Regions from separate parts of the Homo sapiens genome. Here regions 1, 3, 4, 5, 6 and 7 are each linked to region 2. Evidence: promoter capture Hi-C in 16 types of primary human blood cells and fetal thymus (Javierre and others, 2016). All regions are on one chromosome and are shown on one strand. Each heading gives the region's core, a stretch centred on a gene start or on the middle of the fragment in contact. The rest is flanking DNA. Distances are from core to core; before and after follow the strand shown. Region 1 overlaps DYNC1I1 (dynein cytoplasmic 1 intermediate chain 1). Region 2 holds the start of DLX6 (distal-less homeobox 6). Region 3 overlaps DYNC1I1 (dynein cytoplasmic 1 intermediate chain 1). Region 4 overlaps DYNC1I1 (dynein cytoplasmic 1 intermediate chain 1). Region 5 overlaps DYNC1I1 (dynein cytoplasmic 1 intermediate chain 1). Region 6 overlaps DYNC1I1 (dynein cytoplasmic 1 intermediate chain 1). Region 7 holds the start of DYNC1I1 (dynein cytoplasmic 1 intermediate chain 1).

Evidence for each region. The method cuts DNA at HindIII sites, captures the fragments that hold promoters and counts their contacts. A CHiCAGO score of 5 or more calls a contact.
Region 1: a fragment that was not itself captured here is called in contact with the fragment with the promoter of DLX6 in region 2 in 1 of 17 cell types (non-activated CD4 T cells); the score reaches 6.2 in non-activated CD4 T cells.
Region 3: a contact is called between a fragment that was not itself captured here and the fragment with the promoter of DLX6 in region 2, in 2 of 17 cell types (naive B cells and activated CD4 T cells). The highest score is 7.8, in naive B cells.
Region 4: a contact is called between a fragment that was not itself captured here and the fragment with the promoter of DLX6 in region 2, in 17 of 17 cell types (monocytes, naive CD8 T cells, total CD4 T cells and 14 more). The highest score is 21.5, in monocytes.
Region 5: a contact is called between a fragment that was not itself captured here and the fragment with the promoter of DLX6 in region 2, in 11 of 17 cell types (monocytes, total CD4 T cells, total CD8 T cells and 8 more). The highest score is 12.9, in monocytes.
Region 6: a fragment that was not itself captured here is called in contact with the fragment with the promoter of DLX6 in region 2 in 1 of 17 cell types (total CD4 T cells); the score reaches 6.4 in total CD4 T cells.
Region 7: a contact is called between the fragment with the promoter of DYNC1I1 here and the fragment with the promoter of DLX6 in region 2, in 13 of 17 cell types (activated CD4 T cells, total B cells, M0 macrophages and 10 more). The highest score is 13.0, in activated CD4 T cells.

The regions. Positions count from the first base shown.
Region 1 is chr7:95,863,429-95,866,352 of GRCh38, forward strand. All of the region lies in intron 5 of DYNC1I1 (dynein cytoplasmic 1 intermediate chain 1), which reads left to right. Among named protein-coding and RNA genes, the nearest start is that of DYNC1I1, 92 kb to the left of the region's middle. The HindIII fragment of the contact is 200 bases long and covers 1,571-1,770 here.
Region 2 is chr7:97,004,054-97,006,994 of GRCh38, forward strand. It overlaps DLX6 (distal-less homeobox 6), which reads left to right and starts at 1,500. Exons shown (of 3, transcript NM_005222.4): 1 at 1,500-2,360. The coding sequence starts at 1,925. All of the region lies in intron 1 of DLX6-AS1 (DLX6 antisense RNA 1), which reads right to left. RefSeq lists an enhancer at 217-938 and a silencer at 2,251-2,350. The HindIII fragment of the contact is 12,379 bases long and covers 1-2,941 here.
Region 3 is chr7:95,892,994-95,896,014 of GRCh38, forward strand. All of the region lies in intron 6 of DYNC1I1 (dynein cytoplasmic 1 intermediate chain 1), which reads left to right. Among named protein-coding and RNA genes, the nearest start is that of DYNC1I1, 120 kb to the left of the region's middle. The HindIII fragment of the contact is 3,227 bases long and covers 83-3,021 here.
Region 4 is chr7:95,911,414-95,914,432 of GRCh38, forward strand. The region is part of intron 6 of DYNC1I1 (dynein cytoplasmic 1 intermediate chain 1); the gene reads left to right. Among named protein-coding and RNA genes, the nearest start is that of DYNC1I1, 140 kb to the left of the region's middle. The HindIII fragment of the contact is 2,652 bases long and covers 154-2,805 here.
Region 5 is chr7:95,933,593-95,936,689 of GRCh38, forward strand. The region is part of intron 6 of DYNC1I1 (dynein cytoplasmic 1 intermediate chain 1); the gene reads left to right. Among named protein-coding and RNA genes, the nearest start is that of DYNC1I1, 160 kb to the left of the region's middle. The HindIII fragment of the contact is 1,297 bases long and covers 730-2,026 here.
Region 6 is chr7:95,966,019-95,968,828 of GRCh38, forward strand. All of the region lies in intron 6 of DYNC1I1 (dynein cytoplasmic 1 intermediate chain 1), which reads left to right. Among named protein-coding and RNA genes, the nearest start is that of DYNC1I1, 190 kb to the left of the region's middle. The HindIII fragment of the contact is 8,224 bases long and covers 1-2,810 here.
Region 7 is chr7:95,770,885-95,773,894 of GRCh38, forward strand. It overlaps DYNC1I1 (dynein cytoplasmic 1 intermediate chain 1), which reads left to right and starts at 1,670. Exons shown (of 17, transcript NM_001135556.2): 1 at 1,670-1,889. The HindIII fragment of the contact is 2,753 bases long and covers 836-3,010 here.

The sequences.
Region 1 (2,924 bases), core at 421-2,920, 1.1 Mb before region 2:
GTTGCACAATTTTGTGAATATACTAATAACCATTAAATTATACAGTTTAAATAAGGAAATTTCATACTGTGTGAACTTTATTTTAACAAAAAAATTAAGGCAGCCTTGATCTTAAGTCTCTGGTCAACCACCTCTGCTGCTTCTCCGTGCCTTTCATAACCAGCTCCCCATCCAGTCCTTGACATGTCAAAATTATTTTTCCATTTAAATTTTTGGCCTTTATTTTTCAAGGTAACTAGAAAGTTTCTTTGAAATCTAGTGGGTTTTCTTTAGGCCTTCATCACATGTAGGCACAAAACAGTGCCTCTCCTCTTATTTCAGGATGTAGATGCAATGATTCCAGAAGCTAACGATCCATTGTTTATGGTCCTGAAAGGAATGGAGCTCTTTTCAGAACATGTGGAGAAAGCCAGGGCATTCCAGCTTAGTAAATAACTCTATGCTTTGCAAGAATTATTCATAGTACTAAAAATAGTACTTAAAGTTTTCATAACATCCCAAAATATCATTCACGTTTTTCTCAAAATTTCCTTTATCTTTGAAGTGAGAGAAGAGCCACATAGAATATATTTTTTAGAATTCCATTGGTAATGTACATGTTTCTCATGCTTTTATTTGGGAGTAAGTTTGTATAATCCTAACTTTCTTCAGCTTTAGTAGCTATCGTAGATCATCCTTATATCACACTTGGAGCTTCACCTTTTTTTGGATAATACAACTTTATAAGTAGCTAGCAAAGCCATGCTAACCTTATTGTGAGTGGATAGACAAAAGTGTCAATTGAACCAGAAATGGAAAGGGGAATGGGGACAGTGATTCATACAATGGAGTAGTTTTCTTCTTGTGATTCATAATGTCCAATCAAGGACAAATGGACAGAACCTGGGTGGATTGGACTATGCTAGTGTTAAATTGGAAATCTTTGCACCTTGAGCAGTGGCAAATAACCTTCTCAAACTTCAAGTAGCTTTATTTTTTATTCTTTAGTAAGACCTGATTTTTCTTTTCAGAAGAAACATTTCAACTTTCTTGCAATATGGCTTTGCTCAGCCAGCTTTCCCAGCCAAGTTGACAGGACAAGGTGAAAAGAAACTCTCAGGGGAAAGTCAAACCCTAGCTCTGGGGAGATGTTGGCTCCAGGTCACTTCAGGACAAGACCAAGTCAGCTTGTCAAGGATCTGTGGTTCCACTGCCCGGTCTGGAATCATCTGTCTGACTTTTTAGTTTTTTATCTAGCAAAGGTTCTTGAGCCAGTTTCTTAATATTTTGTATACCGCAATCTACTTTCTGTAGCCCTCTTCTTCTCACCTTTTCCCTCATCTCTTTACCTGGCTTGTTTCATAGAACTTCATAATGAAGTTCAAAGACGTCTGCCCATTCAGTGGCACTAAAGCCTCTAGAATAGCCTGGGATCTGATGGCAGGGTGGGGAAGCTCAAACAGGTCTGCCTAAACAATGAAGTTTTCATCTCTCCACTCTATCTAGTATTTTTAAGCCAGTGATACTCAACCTTTAGCAGGCATCAGAATCACCAGAGTAAGGGGTTGTGGGGAAAGGGGGAAGGTGGACAAGCTTCCTAAAACAGATTGCCAGACCCCAACCCTGAAATTTCTGACTCAGTGGGTTGGGGTGGGGACTGTGAATTTGCCTTCTAACCGTCTCCCAAGTGGCACTGCTGCTGGTGGGGTCAGGCACCACACTTTGGGAATCTCTGCTCTAGGATTTCTCGAATTTTGGTTTACTCTTGGCACAATTAATCCAAATATATGAAGCTTTATTGTACTGCATAGGTGATATTGAATGTTTGTTTTCCCACGGTTACTTAAAGCATTATAGTTCAGTAATTTTAAAGTTTCAATAAACCCTTTTATTTTACCAAGGTGAAAATACACCACATGATTTTAAAATGATGCCGTGTCAACCAGGACATACATAATTTGAGTCTCAATTTATATTTCTACATTGTTTCTACCTTTTCTCCTTCTCTTCCCTTTTTTCCTCTCTACCTTCCTGCCTCAAACATTTATTTAGTGCCTGCTATGTACCTGACGCTAAACTAAGGCCCAGGGTATGGCATAAATTAGTAAGGGATAAATAAGTATCTTTGCAGTCTAGTCATGGGTGAGAGACATGAAAAAGAAGTGAATACGGTCATGTGTCACATAATGATATTTTGGTCAATGACGCACTGTGTATTATGGTGGTCCTGTATGATTATAATACTGTATACTTACTGTACCTTTTCTATTTTTAGATACACAAATACTCAACCATTGTGCTACAACTGCCTACGGTATTTAGTACGGTAATATGCTGTACAGGGTTGTAGCCTAGGAGCAATAAGCTATCCCATCTAGCCTAGACGTATAGTAGGCCATACCATCTAGGTTTGCGTAAGTGCGGTCTGTGATATTTGCACAATGACAAAGTTGCCTAACATGCAATTCTCAGAAGGTGTGCCCATCATGAAGCCACACATGACTGTACAGTGACATGTACCAAGGGCTATGGCAGCAGTATCTGGGTGTACAGTGAACAGGGCATAAGCTATGCAGGAGGGGTGGTGGGATGGCAGGAAAGGTAGCACAGAGTCGGAACTGAGGAACCAGCATAGAGTCTGCAGCCTAACTAGAAGGCACGGGAACTGCAGTGGTATGAATGCCACAGTGTTGTCTTGCTCTTCCTCCTTTGCTTAGTTTAACTTAGAGAAATCCCTAAGCAAAAGGTCTTTGCTATGAAAGGACGACACCTTCTGGTCATCCTTTCTGGACTGGCTAGGGCTGGGAGTGATTGTATGGTACTTAACTCAGAAACATAATCCTTTCATTATGTCCTAACAATCTAAACCAGGCTACTTCTCAATAATTCTTTCTCATGCTTCTAAAATGACCACACGTGCTTGGACCACTATATTAGGTTTTAAG
Region 2 (2,941 bases), core at 250-2,749:
CCCGGGACCCGGAACCCGGGACCCTGGACGCCGGTGCGGGCGGGCCTGCCCTCCTCTGTGCCTGGCCCCCAGTCTGGCCCTCCTACCTGTTGACCAGGCCTGAACCACGCACCGGGGCTCCGCTGTCTCTGCTTGGCTGCCTTAACCTGCGTGGGTCTGGAGACCGGAGGGAGAAAGGCTAGATCCGCAGCCTTGGGCTGCTCCGAACTTAATGTCTTTCCCCAGTCCATCTTTGAAAGAGAAGTGGTTCTACCACCTGGATGTGCGGATATAAATCCCCTTGCAAATAATAAATGGATTAATAATAACAAGGTATGAAGTTCTTTTTATAGAAAAAAAGGAGAGAATTGAAACTAAATGCGGCAGTTAGACAACCATTTTGATAAGAGGATAATTGAGGCGACACTGGTGTATAATTAGAGGATAATTTATGCTATATCCACTTTTATTCCACCTCCCAAAATAAACCCAGTCCATAATCATTACAGGCAAATTGTTCTGAATTTTATAGCAGCAATTTGAACAAAGTACTGCAGTTAATCATGGGAGATTTTTGTGTATTCCTGATTAGAACTCTAATTGCCTCCTTCCAGAAAGTAAAAATAACTGTAAAACGACTCTATTTTTATCATTAACAATGTTGACAATAAAATAAAATCAATTGGAATTGTAATCGAGAGACAAATTTAGGACGAAGGCACTTTTACTTGGGTAGTTTATATTGTAATCAAGATTTGCCAAACCACTAACCGCATGTATCATTTGCATATATTTGAAAGCATTACAGTAGCTTCTGTTTTCAATAGGAAAAAATGCATTACTGTCAGTCCTCCAACGATTCGTTTTCAGAACACGCTGCTGCGTTCTGAAAAGAAAAAAAAGACGCCCCCCCCCCCCACAACCTTTTGTACAATATATAAGAAATACGGCCTGAAACGGCAGGGACCGAGCCAGAACAGGGTCTGATTTTTCTTTTTCTGTACCACCCCCCAGTGGGGTGGAGCCCAGGTGTGAGGGTTCGTCTTCCTTCTGTGGTTTCAATAAAATACGTCTAGAAAAATCCACGGTGACAAGGAGCTCCCACAAGAGTGTAGTAGGACCAGAGTGGCAGGGACGTCAAGAAAGGGGGGCCTGGATTTAATGCGGGGGTGGGGTCACTGCTTCTAAGCACAGGCAACCTACAAGGGTGCAAAGGGATTGAAAGAGAGCAGCCCCCAGTTGGCTGTTTCAAGGCTGAGATATTGGCAACTGGGGCTCCGGGATTTGGGGCACGAGCTGCGGCGGGAAGCATCGGCGGCCGGCCGGGCAGAGGCGCCTCCCTCCCCAACGGCCCCGGGCGCCACACAGCGCGGCCCCCGGCTGCAGCTCCGGCTGGGATTGGAACTGCGGAAGGTAGGCGAAGAACTCTGCAAGTCGCGCACACGCCAGTAGAAGCCGTGCGCCTGTGACGTCAGGGGGCGACTGACCAATGGGGAGGCACTGCCCTTTGGAGACAAACCATTCGACTCGTGGCGTCTGCATCAAGTCTGAAAGCAGACGCGCAACTTTCGCAGAATCCACCTTAAAATCTCTGCCTTAAACTGCACCAGCCCCCAAAAAATCCAAGGGGGGAAAGCAGGCGGGGGGAGAGCAGATTCCCCCCTCCCCCTCTCCTCTCCCATCCCTCCTCCTTCCTCCTCCCTTTGAGTTAACAAGGCCCCGCTCACTATATCTCTTTATATTAAATATATATATATATTAGAGAAGAGCGAGGGAGAGGGAGAACCACCTCCACCCCCCTCTTTAAATTCTTTTTTTTTTTTTTTTTTTTTTTTGCAAGGATCCAAAGAGCTAAGGTGGCTGCAGAGGGGAGAGCGGCGCGAGCCAAGTGGGGGAGGGTGGAGGAAACCCGGGAGAAGGCTTTCTCCAGCCCCCAAAGTTTTTGATGATGACCATGACTACGATGGCTGACGGCTTGGAAGGCCAGGACTCGTCCAAATCCGCCTTCATGGAGTTCGGGCAGCAGCAGCAGCAGCAGCAGCAACAGCAGCAGCAGCAGCAGCAGCAACAGCAACAGCCGCCGCCGCCGCCGCCGCCGCCGCCGCAGCCGCACTCGCAGCAGAGCTCCCCGGCCATGGCAGGCGCGCACTACCCTCTGCACTGCCTGCACTCGGCGGCGGCGGCGGCAGCGGCCGGCTCGCACCACCACCACCACCACCAGCACCACCACCACGGCTCGCCCTACGCGTCGGGCGGAGGGAACTCCTACAACCACCGCTCGCTCGCCGCCTACCCCTACATGAGCCACTCGCAGCACAGCCCTTACCTCCAGTCCTACCACAACAGCAGCGCAGCCGCCCAGACGCGAGGGGACGACACAGGTGAGAGGCCGCTGGGGCAGCTCGCTTCTCCCGCCTCCCGACTGCCCCCTACCCCGCCCGCCCGCTCACTTCCTCGACGCCCGGGCCTCCGCCGGCCCCCTCCCCCAGGCGGCCCCGCGCGCCCTTGGCCGGGCCCCGTGCGCGCCCGCTCGCCTGGCGCCTGCCTGCCGGCCTCTCCCAGCCGGGCCCCTTCCCGCCGCCGCGGACCCTCAGCTTCCGACGCGCAGTTCGGGCTGAGTCCCGGGCCCGGCGCAGGCTTCGTTCGACGAGTTAGTCCACACTGCGCTCTCCAGCCTCCTGGGTCTGTGCGCCCTTTTCCTTGCTCCTTCCCTCCAGGCTGTAACCCACGTTTGACCCGGCTGGGGACATTTCTGGGCCGGAACTGGGGAGCGTGTTTTGCTTCCCAGCCCACGCTGGGCAGGCAGTGGCCTACTTTGCGTGGGGCGCCCCGTGCTCCTCAGTGACTCGGAGGGAAGCTGGCCTGGCTTTCGCTCTGGTTAAACTAGTAACAGTCAGGCTCTTTCCAGTGGGCTTTAAAGTGTCCCTCACCTTCATCCCTGACCGGGCCCCCTATCTAGCTT
Region 3 (3,021 bases), core at 446-2,945, 1.1 Mb before region 2:
AACTCTTTCCTCGTGACCTTTCTTAAATTTGTTTTCTTTTTTCTTCATTTCTTAATAAGTCTTTATATATTTTGGCACAGTAAGCTTTGAAAAGGGAGGGTTAAAAATAGCTTCCTGGTTTCAGCTACCAAACACAAGCATGTTTTGGAGCTCTCCCACAACAGGCTGATTTCCAAAGAAACACACATTTATTCATCCTGAAGGGCTGTGATGTTGAGGAGTCAGACAAAAAATTCAACTATTATGTGAAGACAGTTTGAGAAATATAAATAAGGGAGTGCTTTCACTAGCACTTGCAGTATGGATTTGTGACTCAAGAAAGTCCTGTTCATGTGTTTCTTCATTTTTTCCCTGGGTTTCCATAATCAGAGAAGGGAAGGACAGGAAAGCATGTGATATTTATATAGCAGAAATGATACTATATTAAAGGGTTTCTTTAGGTGTTAAACAGTTTGGCTTGCAAACGTCTAGACTTTTTTAAATATCTAAAAATGACAAATCTTAAACACCACTCCCAATAACTTCCTTAAAATTTGATATAAGAAATGTTGCCTGGGCTTTATAGTCCCATAATTGCTTGGCTGAGAACATGTGCCTTACTCCTGTTCCTATACAAGGTCCATCATCTTGCTGGCACTCCATGAATGTCAACTACCAAGTGTACAGATTTAGGTATCAAAGACTGCTGATGATGCAAAACCTAGAGATCTAGGAAATACTGAGGAATAATGCAGCCAGACTCAAAAGGTTTGTTTCTTTGAGCTGCCAGAGCTAGTAATGTAAGTGGAAAATATAGTTAATATAGACAGATGTCAAACAAAGCCAAGTGGAAAGAACAGGAAACAAAAATATTAAATGAAACAGTAGAGTGTGCTTACTGGGTTGGGACTTGGAGAATTGGGTTTGGAATCTCTTTGCAGTCTGCCCTGTGAAAGACTGAAAGAAAATTTTGAAGTGATGTGAAAATTTATTCGGTTCCTCAGTGGATAACCCTTTCCCAAACAATGAGAATCTCTGATGAAGCCTCTGCTGTTACTTATGAAGAAATTTGATAACTATTTAACATGTTGATATTATACTACTATCAAGTGATATTGTAAATACCTGCCCTTCCCTCATCCACCCATGCAAAGCATCCTGGAACATCCCAGATTATTAGTTGCTGTAGTCCATCTAGAATGCTATAATGAGACACCATAAACTGGGTAGCTTATAAATAACAGAAATTTGTGTCTCACAATTCTGAAGGCTGGAAAGTCCAAGATCAAGATTCCAGGAGACTTGGCACCTGGTGAAGCCTGGCTTTCTGGTTTATAGAAAGCATCTTCTCTGTCTCCTGATATGATAGAAGGGGCAAGGGATCTCTCTAGGGTCTCTTTATAAGAGTACCAATCCCCAGTTATCTCCCAAAGGACCTACATCTAATACCCTTACCTTGGGGGTTAGGATTTCAATACCTGAATTTGGGGGGGGGACATAAACATTTAGTCTATTGTATTAGCACTGCAAGCATAGGGTGTAAGAGTGTGTATCTTCTTTTCAAACTTAGGAATTAGCTATTTCTTCATAGATTCTTCTAGTTAGTAATAGGTTGGTGCAAAAGTAATCACAGTTTAAATTTTAAATCATTATAACTAGGCTCAAACACATCTTTATTAATTAAAATAGGAACCATTACAATCAACACATTTTTGCCAACTGGAAATAAGTTTGTTTATTCCTGTAGCATAAAAATCTGTGCTTCGGGATTCAATGAACTCTTGGAAAGCATTTTCTGCATCCTGCTGGTTGTGGAAACATTTTCCATGTAAAAAGTTGTCGAGATGCTTGAAGAAGTCAGTTGGTGAGAGGTCAGGTGAATATGGCAGTTGAGGCAAAACTTCTTAGCCCAATTCGTTCAACTTTTGAAGCATTGGTTGTGTGTTGTGCAATGAGTGGTCAGGCATTGTTGTGGAGAAGAATTGGGCCTTTTCTGTTGACCAATGCCGGCTGCAGGCATTGCAGTTTTCAGTGCATCTCATCAATTTGCTGAGCATACTTCTCAGATGTAATGGTTTCACCGGGATTCAGAAAGCTGCAGTGGATCAGACTGGCAACAGACAACCTAACAGTGACCACGACCCTTTTTTGGTGCAACTTTGGCTTTGGAAAGTGCTTTGGAACTTCATCTTGGTCTGACCACTGAGCTGGTCATCGCTGGTTGTTGTATAAAATTCACTTTTCGTCACATGTCACAATCCGATGGAGTATAGTTCATTGTTGTTGAGTACAATAAGAGAAAATGACACTTCAAAATGGTGATATTTTCAATTTTCACTCAGCTCACGAGGCACCCATTTATCAGCTTTTTCACTCTTCCAATTTGCTTCAAATGCCAAACAACCATAGAATGGTCCATGTTGAGTTCTTCGGCAATTTCTCATGTGGTTGTACGAGGATCAGCTTCGACGATTGCTCTCAATTGGTCATTGTCAACTTCCGATGGCTGGCCACTATACTCCTCATCTCAAGTCTCCTGTCTCCTTTGGAAAACTTCTTGAACCACCACTGCACTGTACATTCATTAGCAGTTCCTGGGCCGAATGCGTTGTTGATGTTGTGAGTTGTCTCCACTGCTTTACGACCCATTTTGAACTCGAATAAGAAAATCATTCGAATTTGCTTTTTGTCTAACATCATTTCCATTGTCTAAAATAAATATAAAATAAACAGCAAGTAATAAGTCATTAGCAAAAAAAAAGTGAGAAATGGCCATTAAAGTGATATATAACATAACTACATTTATTTAAGAATGTATTCCAATATCACACAGCAAATTTCAACAATGCAAAAACTGCAATTATGTTTGCACCAAGCTAATAGTATCCTGTCTTATGCCACTAATTACCTTAGGGCTGAGTGAAAGCGGGGCCTGCTAGCCCTGATGATGGACCCTCAGTTCAGAGTCAGCTTGAGAGGGAGGCAAGAGAAACCATCTTCTCCACCTTTCCCCTCCTAGGGCAGTTATCTGAGAGAAGAGCC
Region 4 (3,019 bases), core at 230-2,729, 1.1 Mb before region 2:
AGTGGTGGTATGTACTTCTCTGCTTCAGTTAAGGGTCAAAAAAGGCTGACCAGAGGTGAGAAGAAGGAAAGCAAGGAGGGAAGGAACAATATCAAGCACTCCTCCTGAGAAGTGGCTGATTGGAAATGTGCCCATGAAGGACACAGAGGCCCAAGCTTACATTTAGGAAATAGTTGAAACACTAGGGAAGCAGGAAATAACACACTCTAAGGCAGTGATTCTCAAATTTGAGCATGCATCCCAATCACCTGGGGGGCTTGTTCAAACCAGGTTGCAGGGCCTCATCTTTTGACCTTCTGGTTCAGCAGGTCTGAAGTCAGGTCTGTGAGTTGCACGTGTGGTGAGGTCCCAGGTCAGCACCTGCTGCTGCTGGTCTAAGGATCTCATCTTGAGAACCACTACTTTAAAGGGGGCTATCCTACCAATAAGATAAATTAGAAAAATGTGTATAGCTAGTGTTTCAAGGTCACTGCAACTAGTTACAGATTATCTGTAAGAAGACTTCAGAGATGATAAAGCATGCCCTAATCTGCAGGATGAATTCCCAAGCACTCAAATTTGTGAACAGGTAATCCAAACTTTTTAAGGCTGCTTGTTTAGCACTCACTCATCACTTGAACATCATTTTTTTTTTCTTTTTTGAGAAAGAATCTTGCTCTGTTGCCTGGGCTGGAGTGCAGTGGTGTGATCTCAGCTCACTGCAACCTCCACCTCCCAGGTTCAAGTGATCCTCCTTCCTCAGTCTCCTGAGTAGCTGGGACTACAGGCATGTGCCACCACACCCGGCTAATTTTTGTATTATTAGTAGAGAGGGGGTTTCACCATGTTGGCCAGGCTGGTCTCAAAATCCTGACCTCAGGTGATCCACCCGCTTTGGCCTCCCAAAGTGCTGGGATTACAGGCTTGAGCCATCATGCCTGGCCCACTTGAACATCTTGATGCTAAGAAAGGAGAGGAAAGGCAGTTCTGGAGTGAAGGAGTTTATCTGGCTTGTTCTGTTCTCCGTGGTATGAGGACATTTGCCTTTGATACGTTTAATCTCTCTTGTTCAGGGTGTGCAGTGCATGTGGCTCAGGTTGAAGAGCTGGTCTTTCCCACTCCTTGATTTGCAGGGACATAGAGTGAATAATTAATAATGAGAAATCATGTTCTGATCATGTGCAGGTTCTCCTGCCAGAAGAATGCCCATTGAGGCACCTCTCTAGCAGTAGAGAAGGAACCGTTCTAGCCAGACATGCAGGCTTGCCCCCTCTTTGACCAACATGCCAGGCAGCTTTGGAGGCGGGAGGAGGAAAGGCAATCTGTTTGTGTCCATTGTCTAGAGTCTCATTAGCACCAGCCCTGGTCAAGGACTAATAACCCACACTTTTGTCCTTCCTCTGCCTTTGTCTGAATCAGCTTCTAAACAGTGGGAGGACCACCTCAAAGGCAGGAGATTGGTGGGCTACAGACCAAGATGGACTTCCTGTATCTTAGTATTGTGGCAGTGGATTGGTTTCATGCATCCTTGGAAATAGTTACTCCCCCATGCTCCCAAAATGAGAACCAACTTTTGCAAGTTGGCTAAAAAAAAGAAAGAAAGCAAGCTAGTTAAATCCCTTTGATTAATGCTCTACCACTATTGGCAAAAATAGTCTGTTAATATTTTTATGTAGACTTTTCCTTTGGCTTGTTTGCTTAAGGTGAGCTAGTGTCTCTTTCATTACTTGCACCTCTGGTTAGGAGCCAGAGCCTAGTTCATGGTTCTATCCTGGGTGGGAAAAAACAGATGTTAATGTGTTTGCATCTTCATATTCATATAGAAATATTATTTTTTAGTTCTCTTGAAATTTCATAAACTGATCCTTGCTAAGTAAAGTGGTCCTGATCTAAAAATAGAACAGAGCTCTTGAGCGGAGGTGGGGGCATGGTGCCACACATATGAAAGAGAGCTGGACATGGTAATATGGTTTGGCTGTGTCCCCACCCAGATCTCACTGTGAATTGTAGCTCCCATAAACCCCAGGTGCCATGGATGGGACCCTGTTGGAGGTAATTGAATCACGGGGGCAGGTTTTCCCATGCTGTTCTCGTGATAGTGAATAAGTCTCACAAGAACTGATGGTTTTATAAAGGGCAGTTCCCCTGTATGCACTCTCTTGCCTGCTGCCACATAAGACATGCCTTTGCTCTTCCTTTGCCTTCTTCCATGATTATGAGGCCTCCTAGCCAAGTGGAACTGTGAGTCCATTAAACCTCTTACCTAGTCTCAGGTATATCTTTATTAACAGCATGAGAAAGGACTAATACACATGGGTAACACATAGAATTAGGGAAATGGCATCCTTGCCAGTCTTTTGGATTATGAGTCTGATTTTTAGTCTCTATTCACTAATAATGCTATGGGTTTAATAATTCAGTTGTCTGTAGTTGTGCTTCCTAATCTTTTTGCATTAATATCAGAGTATTTGCATGGAACACTGGGATAAATGAAGGAGGTAGCCCCATCCTCATCCCAGGGCTGAGGATATCAGTTGCTTACAACACACTTGTGACCCCTTAGTGGCACACCAGGTGAGAAGCTCTGATCTTGGGCAGAATTGTGCATTTGATCTGTTTGCAAGCCTTTTAGCTTTGACCTGTTTCATGGCCAGAGCTATACATTCACCCAGGCAGGGACTGGGTTGATAGGTTTATTGGAAGTACCAGGCAAGAAGGCCTGAATGGGGCACCAGACCTGTTACTCCTGGAAAAACAATTCAAAGCACATTTCATCTATGACATCATGAATCATATTACTATTTTCATTTTCTTTACTCACTAGGAAGCTTTAAGCCACTTCCAGTAGCTGAATAGGATGGGGCTGCTTTCTTGTCCATGGCTCTAATATTTCCCCTCATTAGAACATTCCTGATTATTTACTGTATCCTTTTGTATTATGGTTATTTTTATAGGCCACTTGAAATCCTTTCTGCGGGTTGTGGATTATGGAAGAGAGCAAATAATTTAAAAAGAAAGCTCAAAATACACTTCTTACCCA
Region 5 (3,097 bases), core at 128-2,627, 1.1 Mb before region 2:
TTTTCATGAAGAAATGGCTTTTAAACATGTTGGCATTTCTGTTCATGATAGACACACCATTTGAATCCAAACCCTTGCAGAGGTGACATGACACTGCACTGAAGGCAGTGACACATTTTTTTTAAAAAAAACTTCACATAAAATTATGTAAACACTTAAAGTGAATGAGACACCTGCCTTTGAGACACCCGCCTTTCAGTCGCCCTTGTTATGCCACCCACAGCCTTTTCTCCTTGGCTATTCTTAGCAGGATTTATTTTGAGCCTAGTGGTGGTAAAAGATGTAACATAAAATGAAACCCGACACTTAGAGCTCCCTATTATTAATTCATAAATTCAGTCTGGGATCACCCATTGGTGCCAATGAAAGATTAGCCTAGAGAACAATCACGGTTCACATTCTATACAGTAGTATAGAAGAAAGTTTGCCACTGATAATTGTATTTATGTAAGTGCTAGCAATAATTGCCTGGTGGTCTTGGAACAGTGATAAAGAAGAAAATGACCAGAGTAAACTCTGCTGTTCAATTTCTTGGACTAAAAACTGCATGGAGACAGGAAAACAGCCTGAAAACAACCAACCATGGCCCCCCTCAATGATTTGGAGAAATGAAACAATTTTGGACATTTTCTTAGGTTAATAGATGGTTACTGAGTACTTCTGGAGTTCCTCTAGGGTATACCGGTACACTATTAGGTACTAGGGGTCACATGTTAAATTACAAACAAAAGCTTTGGTTCCCAAATTATAGCCCTTGTTAGGAAAAGCAAAGAAACAAAACATGATCAACATATAAGTGGGAATTTTTTCTTAGTAATTCAAGTAATTCTTAAGGCTTCCATTATGTAAACCTGTGGCTGAACTTATAAAATACTGAAACAACTCATTGAAAACCAATCAGTTACATATCCACAAATAAAATGGTATGATAAATAGTTCTTTCTCATAGACACTGTTAGTTTGTTGTCTTGGCTTCATATGAACAGAGAATGAAGGCAAGTCCTCATTGTAAAACACCAAAGTCATAGAATAAAGAACTCCCAGAACTGGAAGAGACTTTAAGTTCACCTGGTTAACTGCCAATATCATCACATGTATTATCCACCTGGTGGATTTTACTTGTTTTAAAATCCCTGCCTGACTTCTCCTTGCCTCTCCTTGAATTTTAAAATTGCTATCTCATACTATCACTTGAGACTGCAAATCCTTTTTCATACTAGCAAAATAAAAATATAAGAATATAAATATACACAAAACTACAAAGTAAAAGGAAATGACTTGTAGCATCTCAAAGTTAAGAAAAAACACCGAGGCTTTTTTGTTCTTCGTTTTTTTTTGTTTTTGTTTTTGTTTTTTGTTTTGTGTGTGTGTGTGTGTGTGTGTCTGTGTTAGAAACACTTAACATAAGATCTACTCTCCCAACAAAAATTTGTACCATAAATTATTGTTAACTATAGATACAATGTCCTATAGCAGATCTCTAGAGCTTATTCACCTTGCTTGAGTGAAATGTTATGCCTTTGATTAGTAACTTCCCATTTTCCCCTCCCCCTCAGCCTGTTTACCACCATTCTGCTCTTTGATTCTATGAATTTAACTATTTTAGAGACCTCAGGTAAGTGGAATCATGCAGTATTTGTCTTTCTGTGACTGGTATATTTCACTTAGCATAAGATCCCCAACATTCATTCATGATGTCACATATTGCAGAATTTTCTTCTTTTTAAGGCTGAATAGTATTCCGTGGCATGAATATACCACATTTTCTTTATCCATTCAAATGTCAATGAACATTTAGGTTGTTTCCACATCTTGGCTATTGTGAATAGTGTTTCAATTTACATAGGAGTACTAATAACACTTCAAGATTATGGTTGCATCTCTTTTGGATGGATACTGAAAAGTGTGATTGCTGGATCATACAGCAATTTTATTTTTATTTTTTTGAGGAACTGCCAAACTATTTTCCATAGAGACTGCAACATTTTGCATTCTTGCTAACAGTGTGCAAGTGCTCCAATTAAAAAGCTTATGCACAGCAAAGGAAACAATCAACAGCGTGAAAAAGCAACCTAAAGATTGAGAGAACATATTTGCAAACCATAAATCTGATAAGTGGTTAATGTCCAAAATATATAAAGAACTCCTACAACTCAAAAGTTTTTTTAAAAAAACTAATACCCTGATTAAGAAATGGACGACAGATTTAAATAGACATTTCTCCAAAAAAGACATACAAATGGCCAACCAATACATGCAAACATGTTCAATGTCAACAATTATCAGGGAAATGAAATCAAAACCACAATGAGATATTGCCTCATACCTGCTAGCATGGTTATTATTTTAAAAAGACAAGTATTAGTGAGGATGTGGAGAAATTTCATGTTTTTTTGGTCTTAGCTGAAGTATACAGTAACACAGATAATTTCTTTCTTTCCATTAAAGGAGCTAGTCAGATGTGACCTCACGTACCTCACATTTCTCATAATACTCTCATCCAACTGCTAAATAGGCAAGCAAATATTAAATTCAAGAATGGTGTGTCTGCAAGAGAATAGTTATTATAGAGAAGTAGTTACTGAGAAATTAATGAAATATGTGTATTTGTCATATAAAATAAAGAACTCATAAGAGTTCAATTATATACATGGCTGATATGCTGGGAAGGACAGGAAAATAATTGGGAAAACTAATGTCAAAACGATAGCTGAGTTTTTAGTAATGAACCATTTCCCTGGACTTGCATTGATGATAGTCACAAGTAGAGTAGCTATAATCTAAACACTTCTTACTAAAAATAAGATCCTAGAATATCCATAGACTGGGAAGTTGGCCATAGATAGTGCCCAGATTTATAGAAACCACCACAGAATGGCTTTTCATCTGTATCTGGTTTTTAGGTGAAACAAGGTGTGTTTAAAAAGCATATACTGGAAAAAGAGAAAAAAAGAAAAAATCTGTAGAGGAAAAATATAAGGAAGAGAAGAAAATTACCAAAAAAGAGTACTGTAATTAGTACATTTTGTGTAATGAGATGATCTCACGTTCAGAAAACAAGAACAAGATGTTGTGGAAAAAGCAGAGGACAATAGTT
Region 6 (2,810 bases), core at 193-2,692, 1.0 Mb before region 2:
CCAATCCAGTAGAGGAGAGGAGTTCACTTTCCTGATGGGTGACCATGTGTTCTGGTTTAGCTGGAACAGTCACCCAGTCCAATAGAAAAGAGGAGTCTACTTCTATAATAGGAGATACATCCAGAATTTCCCAAGACAGTCACCTAGTCCAAAGGAGGTGGACTGATGGACAGGATGACCATAGGTCTGGTTTTCCCAGGCACTCTTTATTCACATCTGTCATTGCAGCTTGATTATTAATTGTACCTCCATTCTCTCTCAGAAGTGTCCCAATTTATGGTAGATGTATATGGTCATTTTACTGATAGTACAAAGAAAAATAGTCTCATTAATCTTTGCCTCAGATACAAAGTCTTCCTCTAAATCTTAAGTAGTATTTACTTAGAGGAGAGAGGGAGAATGTGTCCACCAAAGAATAATAGAGGGCCTGTTATCCCAAGAAGTGGGGTGGTGGTTCTGGATGGCCAAAACCACAAATGTAGATTACAGTTCCCCTTTTCTCTTCATACTGTTCGGTACTGTTTAGCTGTAGAAATGGTTTGGGAGTTGGAAAAACATGGGTTTGACTCTTGACTCTACTGCTGCGTGTAGCTCATTCACCTTAGTGGAAGCATCTTCCCTTTCTAAAGCCTCGGTTTTCTCATACATAGAGAAAGCTCATCATGTTTGCCTCAGTGAGTTATTATGAGGAGTGAATAGACTGATAGACATGAAGGATTCAATAAATCAATAGCTACTGTTTTTCCATAGTGCCTGGAATACATCTTACCACACAATATGTGGTCAGTAAGTACCTGGTGACCGGTGACTAGGACAGGAAACAAACAAGAAAGGACCGTGAACCTCATAGTGGGTGCAGGGAGGCACGGGGTGAGTGTAGACAAGAGTTGCTGTCAGTGGTGGTGGGGCTTAGTGATCAAGGAAAGGAAAACACTTTGATGCTGAGTGAGGAGATTCATGATCCAACTGAAACATTGGGGAAACCACTGAGAAAACGTCCTTTTTAGAACTACTGGGGAAATTAGAAATTATTAAAATTTAAAACAGTAAAAATATTTACTAGACACCCACATTGGGGCATACAGATATGAATAATTAATGGAGCCTACTCCCAAGAATTTGGGAGGAAAAAACTCATAAATATACAGAATTATGTTCTACTTACAATTTATATATCATAGCTAGAGAATGATAAATGCCATAATCTTAAACATAATAGTTCTTTGATTGGATGAACAAAAGGTTGTAGGAAATACCCAACTGAAGTGCTATGAGAGGTTAAAGGAAGAAGAAATCCCGCCAACAGGTAGAGCAGGAACAATTTGGGGAACTGGGGGGTTCTTAGAATCAGGTCATCAGTGTAGCTGGATTTACATGTAGGGAAGATCAGAAAGTATTGGAGGCCTTGGACACTCCAGGTGCACTCTTACCCTTGTGCTTTTGTTTCCTTTGCCTAGGTTGCTCTCCCACAGGGGTCCATAAGACCTGATCCCTCACTTCCTTGAGTGTATTGCCAAATGCCACCTCTCAGTAAGGACCTCCCTTGCTCTCTGTGTAAAATTGTGACACCTACTACTGTGTTTTTGTTGTTAGTGATTGCAGCTCTCTAACCTGCCATATACTTCAACTGTTTATCTTGTTTATTCTCCATCTTGCTGCTAGAATGCCAGCTCCATGAGGGCAGGAATTTTTACCTGTTTTGTTCACTGCTGCATCTCCAATACGTAGAATATACCCAGCACATAGTAGGTGCTCATATTTTGTAACAGGAAAAGAAGAAGGGAGTCTGACTGAGGGGAAGCATGAACCAAGGTACAGATGGAATGTGGAACTGTGTGCAGCAGATACTGTGTTAGTGCAGGCAGACTGGAGTATGCATGTGTGTATGTGCATGCTTGTGCGGGGGTGAACACAGTAGAGGACATTTAAACAGGAAGCACATATTGGGGCCAGACCTTAGAGGACTTGAAGACTAGGCCAAGGAACTCAGCTTTTAGTCTGCATGTCATAGAAACTATCAAATGTTTCCACCAGGAAATTGATATGAACAAGTTGTTTGAAGAGGATTGATCAGACAGTGTTGTTTGTAGCAAGAGTAGGCGTGGAAAGAGGTTAGAGGTAGGGAACAATGACCAGGTGCTGCATAAAAAGCCAAGGTGGCCTTAACCGAAAAAAAAAAAGGAGGTGGGAAATGGAGAGAATAAAGGGAGATGTGCAAAAGAAGGGTATACAAAGAGATAGAATTAACAATATTTGATCCTGTTAATAAAAGGAATGCTAGAGAACATGTACTAATATTAGTGGGATGACCTATATATGCAGTGATTGATGTGACAACAGCTCTAACATTAATAGTCAGAGATGATGACTCTTAGGTATGGAAGGTACCACTCTGTCCTTAGGAACAATTTCCTTACAGCGAAAATAGTGCTTCTAAATGGTTTCTATTTATTTTACTCTTTTTTAAACTAGTTAACATAACACAATAACAATTCTAGTATGTGAAGACCTTGAGTGTCTGCCTTCCTTTGGGACAGATCTACAGTCACTCCTAAAAGTTAAATATCATGACATCTCTATCTCTGTGACTCTGATTTTCTTTTTCACAAGCAAGGTTCCCACCAAAGGAAACTGCAGATTTGCACATTGGGAAGACTTAATAGAGAAAGCAGAAGAATAGAGAATGGAATTGTCTAAAAGCGGAAGTAGATAGCAGAAGGGATTTGAGTCTGAAAAACAGAGGAGTCCCTCCTTATTTTCCAAGCAGCCAAGAATTGCATCTTCAATTGTTCTGAATTTTTTGCTCTGTG
Region 7 (3,010 bases), core at 420-2,919, 1.2 Mb before region 2:
TCGCTTGAACCCAGGAGATGGAGGTTTCAGTGAGCCGAGATTGTGCCACTGCATTCCAGCCTGGGCATCAGAGGGAGACTCTGTCTCAAAAAACAAACAAACAAACAAACAAAACAACAACAACAACAAAAGCAATGCCATGTTGGAAAGACCAAAATACAAAGTAGTTAAAGTACAAGCTGCAGATGAATGGGAATTCAAATCTCAGCTAGATCACTCAGTGGTTATGGAACTTGGGCAAGGGAGTTAACTTCTTTGACTCAAGTTCCTTTTCTGGAGGCATGGCATTCGTTATATGTACTACATAATGTTATAGAAAAGTTAAAGAAAAATGTATGTAGAATTGACATGTATTAAATATTCAGTCACGGTAGTGGCAAATATTTATTTCCTAGATTTTTCCTTCTGGAATACCTTGAATACCTTCTACCTAGACATTTAACCTCTTCATTTCTAGCCATAGTTACAATCGCAGTAGATTAGCCAGGGAGGCCAAAGTTTTAGAATAAGGATGGCCATTTACAGATGAGTATGTATTCATACTGTATTCATACTAGAATCTGTATTTATTTTGAAATTACTGTAGTACTTGTGAATTAATAAGTTCATAAATATTTACTGAGTACCCATTATATATCAGAATGCTGTTCTAGATACTAAGAATACAGCAGTGAACAAGATAGCGTCCCTGCCCTCCACTAATTTACATTCTAATGTGTAAAAATACACCACAGATGTGCAAGAAATATGATGAAAAGCTCATCTATAAAATGATACCAAACCCCCTAACATCCCAAACTCAATTTTTTGGCCTTATAACTTAGCTGTTGTGGCAAGCTTGTTTTTTGCAGAGTCCAATAATAGTTACCCAGATTTTTTTTTGTTTCCCCGAGACGGAGTTTCGCTCTTGTTGCCCAGGCTTTGAGTGCAGTGGCGGGATCTCGGTTCACCACAACCTCCGCCTCCCGGGTTCAACCATTCTCCTGCCTTAGCCTCCCGAGTAGCTGGGATTACTGGCATGCACCACCACGCCCGGCTAATTTTGTATTTTTAGTAGAGACGGGGTTTTTTCATGTTGGTCAGGCTGGTCCCCCAACTCTCGACCTCAGGTGATCCGCCCTCCTCGGCCTCCCAAAGTGCTTGGATTACAGGCGTGAGCCACCGCGTCTGGCCAGTTACCCAGATTTTTAAAAGCTGGGACTTTAAGAAGCAATGTGAAGACAAGCTACACACACACCACACCACACACACACACACACACACACACACACACACAGACACACACACTTAATTCTTTTTTCTTCTAGAAAAATTGGGATCAATCAGACCTATAAGTCATTGTGTACAACAGGTAGATCTGAGCTTTATTTCTATTTAAATGACCTTAAGAAGTGTAGTTGCCTGGGAGTGAAAGTTGTTCAATGGTGGCATTTCAGCAGGAGCTCCCAGAATATTGAAGCTCTTCTCTTTGCAGCAACTGAGGTCTAAGTCCTACCGACGTTAGAGGGATAGACGAATTGACCTTTCCAGGTCCTCTGCTCGCCACCAGCCTACGGAGCGGCGCCACCCCCTCCTGGCGAGACCGGGCGCGGAAGACGCGGAGCGGAGGCCCTCCCTCAGGAGGGGCGCGGGCGTGGAGGGCGTGGGCAGGGGGCGGGGCGAGCCCCGCAGACTGAGTGCTCCGGGGAGCTGTCAGTGTCAGGCTCTGGGAGAGAGGAAGTGATCGCTCCCGGAGGAGCGCGAGCCGAGCGGCCGGCGCAGCGTGAGACAGCACATCCTGCCCGCGCCGGCCCCGCCACCTTCGGGAGCCGCCTGCACCAACGCTGCCGCCGCCCAGGAGCCGCCGCCGGCTCGGGGAGCCCAGTTCCGCCGCTGCCGAGCGCGTCCAGGTAAACTGGAGCGGGATGTCGCCGCTCCCCGGACGGCCGCCTCCGCACCTCTCCCCAACCCTCCCCACCCCGGTGTCGTCTGCGCTGGGAACCAGGCTGGAGCCGAGGCCCCTGCAGCCGCAGCCGGACCCTTGTCCTGGCCCCCTGCCCAGGCTCCTGCGTGCTCCGCTGAGCCCGAAGGCGGCCAAAGCCCCCCAGTGACACCCCCCTCTCGGCAGAGCCGAGAGACTAGGGCAGAGAAGGAAGGGTCGTGGTGTCACCACCTGGTCGCCCACCTTGTGGGCTGGGAAGGGCGTCCCAGTGCGCCCCGCCTCGGTCTTCCCCGGGGGAGCAGTGGGCGAGCGGCGCTGAAATCTGCACCCCTCTGGGCCACCGGCTGACTGCCCCTGGAGGAGGGGGAAAGCTGCAGAGGGAGGGGAAAGGATGCTGTTTGATTACATTTCGAGCTGTCTGCAAAGCTCTTAGATGCTGTCACTACCCTGCAAGTCGGAGGGAGCGAATTCACTTCCAGCAGGGCATTAATTAAACACTTCAAAGCGAGAAGATGCCAGTTTCTCTCTGCTGCGAAAAAGTGTGGCTGGGGGATGTTGTTTTGGTAAACACCTTCACGGCCGCCTGGCTCTCCTTCCCCCGCTCCCATTCGGAATCGCTCTGGCCTTATAAATCCGTGCGTCGTCATCATAAGGGCAGTGATCCTGGCAGCGCTGATGGGAACTGAGTGTGCGGGAGTCTCATGACTTGTACCTTGGCTAATAAGATTAAACAGAAGCCCAGGATCAGGACAGGAAATTACATAGGAGATCAGAGACTCAACAACATGCAGAAGATGGAATATATTCGCTATTCTGGCCTCTACTAATCCTAGGTAAGGGGCAGGAACAAGTAGCCAGCCATTTTCTTGCTTGGAATGCCTTTCAAGTGGGCATTGTAGACTTATTGTAGTTCAGAGTTGTGAAGAATTGCTTCCAAATATTCCAGATTAGCAAAAAGTATAGCTAACAGTAAGGCATAGGCAACTGCAGGTGACAACCCAACGCCTGATGTTAACACAGACATGGGTAACCAGTCTGTGTACATACTTTAATTGTGGAAATTATAGAGATATACGTTGATCAGTGTTA